Linked DNA regions of Homo sapiens: regions 1 and 3 are each linked to region 2. Evidence: promoter capture Hi-C in human tissues and cell types (Jung and others, 2019). All regions are on one chromosome and are shown on one strand. Each heading gives the region's core, a stretch centred on a gene start or on the middle of the fragment in contact. The rest is flanking DNA. Distances are from core to core; before and after follow the strand shown. Region 1 overlaps CACNA1B (calcium voltage-gated channel subunit alpha1 B). Region 2 holds the start of CACNA1B (calcium voltage-gated channel subunit alpha1 B). Region 3 overlaps EHMT1 (euchromatic histone lysine methyltransferase 1).

What was found. Contacts are between HindIII fragments. The study calls those that stand out against the background at their distance.
Region 1: a contact is called between a fragment that was not itself captured here and the fragment with the promoter of CACNA1B in region 2, in 4 of the 25 tissues and cell types used here (H1 embryonic stem cells, IMR-90 fibroblasts, dorsolateral prefrontal cortex and 1 more).
Region 3: a fragment that was not itself captured here is called in contact with the fragment with the promoter of CACNA1B in region 2 in 2 of the 25 tissues and cell types used here (dorsolateral prefrontal cortex and lymphoblastoid cells).

Annotation. Positions count from the first base shown.
Region 1 is chr9:137,969,519-137,972,218 of GRCh38, forward strand. CACNA1B (calcium voltage-gated channel subunit alpha1 B) reads left to right here. Exons shown (of 47, transcript NM_000718.4): 11 at 1,865-2,074. Among named protein-coding and RNA genes, the nearest start is that of CACNA1B-AS1, 24 kb to the left of the region's middle. The HindIII fragment of the contact is 7,856 bases long and covers 1-2,700 here.
Region 2 is chr9:137,876,395-137,879,094 of GRCh38, forward strand. It overlaps CACNA1B (calcium voltage-gated channel subunit alpha1 B), which reads left to right and starts at 1,388. Exons shown (of 47, transcript NM_000718.4): 1 at 1,388-1,823; 2 at 2,660-2,700. The coding sequence starts at 1,540. All of the region lies in intron 2 of CACNA1B-AS2 (CACNA1B antisense RNA 2), which reads right to left. RefSeq lists an enhancer at 1,581-2,496. The HindIII fragment of the contact is 23,600 bases long and covers 1-2,700 here.
Region 3 is chr9:137,754,223-137,756,922 of GRCh38, forward strand. It overlaps EHMT1 (euchromatic histone lysine methyltransferase 1), which reads left to right. Exons shown (of 27, transcript NM_024757.5): 8 at 1-69. Among named protein-coding and RNA genes, the nearest start is that of MIR602, 83 kb to the right of the region's middle. The HindIII fragment of the contact is 7,617 bases long and covers 1-2,700 here.

The DNA of each region.
Region 1 (2,700 bases), core at 149-2,648, 93 kb after region 2:
GTCCCCTTTGGAGAATTTGTTGCTTGTCTTCCTGGCCACGTGTGTGTGCAGACACAGTGGGTTTACATGAGTCACGTGTTCTCTTTCCCTCCTTCCCAGAGTGGCCCTGTTTGTGTCCACAGGTGTGTGCCTCATGTGCACTGAGGAGTGTGTCTGTGTGAGCATCTCATTGGATCTTCAAAAGTGAGCGTGGTCAGGCTGGATGTGTGCTGTGAAGCATGTGCGTGTGTGACTCCTGTGTTCCTGCACAACTGTGTGTGGGTGCATGGGGGGTTCAGAGTGTGTGGGCTTGTTCTGTGCACAGCTCTGCCTGTGTGTGTGCCCCTCCTTATCTGCATTGCACACCTGCCTCCCTCCTGCCCTACTGCTGCCTCTGTGGGGAGTGGTCATCCCTGGCCTTCAGCAGGGCTGGCCACATGCCACTGAGAGCCTGGGTGTGCACATGTACACACATGTGTACAAACACACAGAAAATGCACATAGCACACGAGCTATGAGAGCCACTGAGAGCCTGGGTGTGCACACATATGCATGTGTGTACAAACAGAAAATATGCATAGCACACATGCCCACACTGCCCCTGCTCTTTTGTGCCACTGAGAACCTGGGTGTGCACACATATGCATGTGTGTACAAACACACAGAAAGTACATGTAGCATACACTGCTCCCCACATCCTCACACAGGGACCCCATGCTCAAGCCCAGGTATTCAAAGCCCACTGAGAGACCCATGGCTGGGGCACAGCTGTCTGCTCTCTGAGAACACTGAGAGGCACCCACATGGCCAGGCTTAGTGCACAAACTAAGAAACCCTTACACAGGCAGATGTGCTCTCCTGCAGAGACACAGCCAGCTCCTGTACAGACACACCTGAATCCTCATAGAGACCCTTCCCTCAGTTGTTAAGCATTGATCAAGCCCCTCTCAGTGTGAGGGGCTCAGTGGTGAAGAAGACAATGTGGCCCTGTCCTCATGGAGCCTACAGTCTTGTCTGGGAGTTGGGCATGGAACAGGTCAACAATAAAACACAGTGACAGGTGGTGATGTGGTCAGGGCCACTGTCGGAGGTGAGCCGAGGGCCCTGTTCTAAATGGTGTGCCCAGAGCAGGTGCTCTGTGCAGGTGACGTTAATGCTGAGACTTGAAAGTGTGTGGGAAGGAGTCCAGTGAGGGACGCATTTCACACTTGGGATATTGTGTGAAGGGCCAGGGCACAGCAGGACTGGTGTGCGTGGACATGGGAAAAGGCTGCTGGGTTGGGTGGTGAGCAGGGTAGAGAAGCAGTCAGGCTGGAGCAGGTAGACAAAGTTTCCAACAGTAAGTATTGTGGACATTGAACAGCCATGGACCATGCGTAAACCGATGAGCTTGGCTGTGTTCCAGGAAAACTGCTTAGAAAACAGGCAGCCCATGCGTGCTGACCCCTGAGTCCGGAGGGCGAGAGAGGGAGGGCCAGATGCTGCAGGGCTCTGTGGGCTATGCTGAAGAGATGGGATCTGGGGAGGGACTAACTCAGATTTATGTCTTCAGGGGAAAAAGCTTGGGGTGCTCATGGAGAGTGGCCTGGGGGCATCAGGGCTGTGCTCCTAGAAGGTGGCTGGGGATGCTGGGGACCAGAGAAGTGAGTACAGATCATCCACTTCAATCTGGCTCTCACATCTGGCACCCAGTAACCATGGAGATCATCAGGGCCTTGGTTCCCTCAGCTGTGAAGTGGAGGTCACAGGGGTCACTGGCACAATTGTCTGTGACCGGCTGGGGCTGGGGGCAGGTGTCCTCCAGAGTGCGTCTGTGGGGGTCCACAGGTGGGGTAGGCGGGTGCCCATTGGTCCCCACATCCTCAGTAACTCCCCATCCCCTCAGGATCCCCCTTCGCCCGCGCCAGCCTCAAGAGCGGGAAGACAGAGAGCTCGTCATACTTCCGGAGGAAGGAGAAGATGTTCCGGTTTTTTATCCGGCGCATGGTGAAGGCTCAGAGCTTCTACTGGGTGGTGCTGTGCGTGGTGGCCCTGAACACACTGTGTGTGGCCATGGTGCATTACAACCAGCCGCGGCGGCTTACCACGACCCTGTGTACGTATCCCCGTCCCTCCCTCAGGTGCTTCCTGAGCATCTCTGCTCTCAGTCTGGAAACCCTGGTCCATGCCCTGGGGCTACCCCAGGTGGGACGGGACCCACCCCCATGTTGCTCAAAGTATCCCACAGCCCTAGTCAGCCTCCAGGAGCCTCTGTGGGGGCCTGGGGTGTGTCCAGAGCTGGAGGGTGGCCTCTCCAGCCCCTGGGTTCCAGAAAGCACAGCTGGATCTGCTAGACCCCTGTCCCTCAGCATAGTGTGAGACTGGTTGAGGGGTCCGAGGCACCCAGGGCAGGATATATGTGGGACGACCAGGGGCGAGTCAGGCCAGGCAGATGGGTGTCCTCCCCTGAGAGGGCTTCAGACCCACAGACAGGGGACTTAGCCCCACGCTCCTTTCCACCACGTGGCTGCTGATTCTGCCCCGGGTTCCTGAGGGGGGAGTCCTGGCTTCTTACCCTCCCCAGGTTCCCCTGGTTACCTTCATTTTTCTTTACAATTGGCTAAATCTGGATGCATTCATGCCCTTCCGTGGAGTGAGCTGTTTGCAGTTCTGTTCCACAAGCCTCAGCACAGGGGCCAGGATGGGCCCCTCCAGGCCTGGTCTGTCACAGCCTCGGACTCT
Region 2 (2,700 bases), core at 138-2,637:
TAGTGGGGGCTGGCCATCCTGGTCCACTTTGACACATGTTCACTTTCCCACCCTGTTAAAGTCAGGGCCGGCCACATGGCCCATGGCCTAACGGGGTTAAAGAGACACTTGCAGGGGGAGCCTCTGAGAAGCTTTTCCTTTGTTAGAAAAGAAAATCGTAACCTGATTCACAAAGTGGTCATCCTTTGTACACCTGCCACTTCCTTCCCGTTTGAGATGCTGGTGTAGCGGTGTGATGCCCTGTGCTATGACAGCCACCCTGGGGCATGAGGCAACAGGCAGGAAGGCAGAAAGTGTATGTGGGGATTTTGGAGGGAGGAGAGATGGTGGCTTCGTATTCAGTGAGATCACAATGGCATCGTGCAAGCTGCTGCTAGCTGGGAAGCGGGTTGTTCGCCTCTGAATGCATCCTAAGTGATTCAGCACCCCAGCCTCCTGCAGTCCACACTCCACACGGCAGCCCGAGGGACCCTTCAGAGGCCTACGCGCCTCTGCTCGGAACTGTGCGGACTGCCTCCCTCTCAGAAGGCGCAGCCCGCACCCGGCCTCACTCTGCACTCAGCGCCTTGCGAGCGAGCTTCAGGTCCGAGAGGGTCCCTTGTTCCCGAAGGTCTCCCCGACCCCGGGGCCGCCTTTTTGGAGGTTGTGAGGACCCACGGGCCTGCACGAAGTGAGCGCTGTGTAAATGGTTGCTGTGCTTTGTACAAAACGGTCAGCTCCGTGAGGGCAGAGCTGGGAGCCCAGGACAGGCCCGGCCCGCGGTGGGCGCTCAAGGAGGCCTGGGGAATGGCAGTGACCGTGACAGGTTCCCTAACGGGGCGTGGCCTGCAAGGCGGTCAGAGGCTTCTCTGAGCTGAGATCCCGGAGCCAGCCCCGTGCGTGGAAACAGCAGGTCCCGCACCCGGGCTGGGGGCCCCCGACAGAAGCGTCCGCGTGGCACCAAGGCCGCGAGCCGAGCGCACCCGGAGGGTTGGGAAGGCCGGGGACCCGGCGGGGACGGGGCGGGCCGGCCCAGGCCTGGCGCCCAGCTCTGGGCTGCAGCCCCAGGGCTGGTGGCGCCTCCGGGCGGAGCGAGGGGTCCGTCTGGGCCGAGTTTGAGGAGCCGAGGGCACCCAGGGGCGGTGCGGCCGGCAGAGTGGGCTCCGGGGACGGCCCGGGCTGGCGCTGAGCGGCCGTCGAGGACCCACAGGCTCGTCCGCTCCTGGGCCCGGCCCAGCCCCGGGGTGGGAGGCGCGGGGCGAGGGAGGCGCAGCCGGAGGGGCCGGGGCGGGGCGGGGGCGGCCGCGGGGCGGGGCCGGCGCGGCAGGGTGGGCGGGGCCGGCGCGGATTGGCCGGGCCCCGCCACGTGACCGGCCCCTTATAGGGCGTGGCGCGGGGCCGCGGAGTCGGGTGAGGCGGCGGCGGCTGCGGCGGTGGGGCCGGGCGAGGTCCGCTGCGGTCCCGGCGGCTCCGTGGCTGCTCCGCTCTGAGCGCCTGGCGCGCCCCGCGCCCTCCCTGCCGGGGCCGCTGGGCCGGGGATGCACGCGGGGCCCGGGAGCCATGGTCCGCTTCGGGGACGAGCTGGGCGGCCGCTATGGGGGCCCCGGCGGCGGAGAGCGGGCCCGGGGCGGCGGGGCCGGCGGGGCGGGGGGCCCGGGTCCCGGGGGGCTGCAGCCCGGCCAGCGGGTCCTCTACAAGCAATCGATCGCGCAGCGCGCGCGGACCATGGCGCTGTACAACCCCATCCCGGTCAAGCAGAACTGCTTCACCGTCAACCGCTCGCTCTTCGTCTTCAGCGAGGACAACGTCGTCCGCAAATACGCGAAGCGCATCACCGAGTGGCCATATCCTGCCGGGCGGGGCCGGGCGGGGCCGGGCGGGGACCGGGGTGGGGGCCGGGGCCGGGGCCATCTTCCCGGTGGCCGGGAGGGCGCGACCTGGGGAGGCGTCGGGAGACGGGCGAGGGGGGTACGGAGCGCCCCAGGGCCCCTCGGAGCGGCGGGTGCGGGAGCATTTCCGTGAGTGCGGCGGGCGCGGGGCGGAGCCCCTCTGCTCCGGACTCGTCCCTCCGCACGCCGGGTCCTGGGGATCCTGGTCGGTGCACAGTGCGCGGCTAGCCTGGAGGGCACCGAGGGCGAAGCCGCGTCCGTGCAGGTGCGAGCGCTGTGGGGACGCGGCCGTGCGCGCGCCTGGCTGCAGGTGCCTGCGTGTGCGGGCTGAGCTGGAGCCTGGCGCTGCGCGTGCGTGCGCTCGCGATGCGGGCTACATGCATGTTCACGTGCCTGTGTAGGTACATGTGGCTGCGTGTCTGGAGGGAGCAGCGTGCGCCTGCGCGGGGTCTCCCTCCAGCCTCGCCTGGGGGCGCTCGGCCCCCTCCCCTCGGGGCCCTGGAGTCGGGCGGAGCCGGGCCGGAGGCGCTGTCCGCGGTGCTGACGGCCGCCCGGGTGTGCCGAGGGGCTGGCGGCCCAGACTGCGGAGGCCCCGCCTCGCGGCCGCCCCTAGGGATGGGGGCAGGGAGTGAGGGAGACCAGGCCGCTTCCGCCAGGAGAGGGGCTCCGGACCCAGTTGTCTCAGCCCCTCCGGAGACGGCCTAGCGGTGGCTGCTGCACTGGGCTCTGCTGGCGTCGGCCTCGTGTTTCCCTCCGTGCGGCGTCTGCCGGCCAGTCCTTAACTCACGCACTCCATTCGAGTATATGATCCTGGCCACCATCATCGCCAACT
Region 3 (2,700 bases), core at 183-2,682, 120 kb before region 2:
ACAGTCCCTGGATCAAGCCAGCCAGGAAAAGGAGGCGGAGAAGTAGAAAGAAGCCCAGCGGTGCCCTCGGTAAATGCCGTGGGGGTGTGGGCCATCACGGGGACTGCCTGGGAGGGGATGGTGCCAGGAGGCCCACCTGGGGTTGGGGTGCGTAGGATTTCATTAGAAAAGAGGGCATCACTGTTTAAAAAAAATGTTTGAAATGACTTTGTTAGAGAAACTCAAGTGATTCTAAAGTAGTTTCCTTCTGGCCAATGTAGTGGACGTTGACTTCACTGTTGTTGTTTTTAATTTAATTTTTTTTTTTTGAGACAGGATCTGGTTCTGTTACCCAGGCTGGAGCGCAGTGGCACGATCTCAGCTCACTGCAGCTTCCACCTTCTGGGCTCAGGCGATCATCCTACCTCATCTCCCCAAGAAGCTGGGACTATAGGCGTGTGCCATCATGCCCAGCTTATTTTTTTGTGTTTTTTTGGTAGAGATGGGGTTTTGCTATGTTGGCCAGGCTGGTCTCGAACTCCTGAGCTCAAGCGATCTGCCCGTTTTGGCCTCCCAAAGTGCTGGGATTACAGGTGTGAGCCACTGCGCCCGGCCCCAACTTCATTGTTGAATGTTGAACCGAGGTGAATCATTTGCTGCCCGCATGGGTGACTGGAACCTGTGGCCTGCATGGGCAGCTCCCACGTTGTGTGCAGGAAGCGGCCCCTCAGTGAGGCACCTGTGCCTCGGTCAGAGTCCCCTGTTCCAGAGGAACTTTGTGAATCACAACGTGAATGTAGGAAGGAAATCTCCTCAAACCCAGAAGGGATGCAGCAGGTTTAGGGTGCCAAGGGCCGTTTTTGTTTCCAGCTTAACCGAGGTGCACCTGGCATCCAATAAAATGCACAGAAATAAATTACACAATTTGACAAGTTTTAACATGCTTATGACCTTGAATCCATCACCACAGTCAGATGATCAGTGCCATGAGCTCCTCTGTCACCCCGGGTCCCTCCTGCCCTTTGATAACCTGGCCCCTTCCCTGCCTCCCTTCCCTGCTCCCAGGCAGCCCCTGGTCTGCTCTGTTTCCATGTATTGGTTAGTGTTCTGTAGAATTTTATATAGATGGAACTGTGTGGTTGTTTTTCATCTGGCTTCTCTGAGTATAATTGTTTTGAGTTGCCAGGCTGTCGAATGGCCAGGAGTTTGTTTCTGTCCATTGCTGAGAAGTGTCCCATTGTGTGGCTGCCCCACAGTCTTATCTGTCCATTCATCCGTCCATGGGCTTTGGGCTCTTTCCAGCCTTGGCTGCTAGAAATTAAGTGGCCGTGAACATTTGTGTGCAAATCTTTTTTGAACAGGTGCTTCCCTAGATCTTGGTTAGGTATCTGGGAGTGGAATGGCTGAGTAGAGTGGCGTGTGTTCAGCTCTTCAGGAAGCTGCCAAGCTGTTTTCCAAGCACTCGTCCTGTTTTAGGTCCAGACAACACACAAGCATTCCAGTTCCCCTCTGTCCACGCCAGCACTTGTTAGGGTTAGTCTTTTTAATTCCAGTGGATCTGTGGGTGTGCAGTGGTGTTTTACTGTAGTTTCAATGCTGTTACCTAATGAGTAATGAGATTGTACATTTTAGCCTTCATTTAGTTTTTTTGAAACGTGTCTGTTCACATCTTTTGCTCACTTTTAAAATCTGGTTGTTTTTCTTCTCATTGGGTTAAAAGAGTTTTTAACATATTCTGGAGACAAGTCTTTTATCAGGTGGATGTTTTGCATGTATTTGTACCTAGTCTCTGACCTGCCTTTTCATTTTCCTAATGCTGTATTTAGAAGAGCAAACGTTTTTAAGGTTTTCTTGAAGTCCAAGTTACGAGTTATTTTACTTGGGGGGTTCATGCTTTTGTGCTCTAAGAAATCTTTGACAGACCCAGGTCACAGAGGTTTTGTCCCTTGTTTTCTTCTTGGCATCTGCAGGCTCCGCGCTTGCCTGTCGGTTCATTTTGCACTGATGTTTGAGTGAGCTGTGGCGCAGGCCCCTTCTTGGCAGTGGGTGTGCAGCTGCCATAGGCACTGCTGCTTGAGTTGATTTTTCTCCACCTGTTGACATTCAGTGTGTGGGCTGTTCCTGGACATTCTGGTCTGTTTCATTTATTTATTTGTTTATCCTTATACCAGTGTCACCGAGTGGCAGCACTTTGTTCTTATTCACAGTGATTTTGGCTAATCTAGATTCCCCAATGTAGAGTACCTCTGTTAACTGGATGTTGGGGAGGCGTCATCCCCTGAAAAGAGAGGGTTGCGGGAGACCTGGGGCGTGAGGCAGTCACCATGGAGGCTCCTGGCGTTTGAGGGTGGAGGACGTGTGAGCCCCCCGGGAGCTGCATGTGGTGCTTCAGTTACGTTTCTCTTCACCTCAGTTTATTGATTCAGATCATAACACCAGATGTGGCTTTTACTGTTGGCCAACAAAAGCATTTTAGAGCCAAGACTAAAAGTTGTTTTTGGGGTAGAGATTTCATCTTTGTCATCTTGGCTGTAATGTGCAAAATGTGTGCTTTTAAATATTCACAGAGGAGTTTGAATTTTATTTCTTTATGAATTTTTTATTTAAATCTTCTTTTCGTTTAAAACTATACAAAGTGTACTCCTGTTCTTCAAGTTGATGATGGTGATTTCTCAAAGGTGGTTGACTTTTCCTGTCTGTCTAAGATCTAGGTGGAGCATG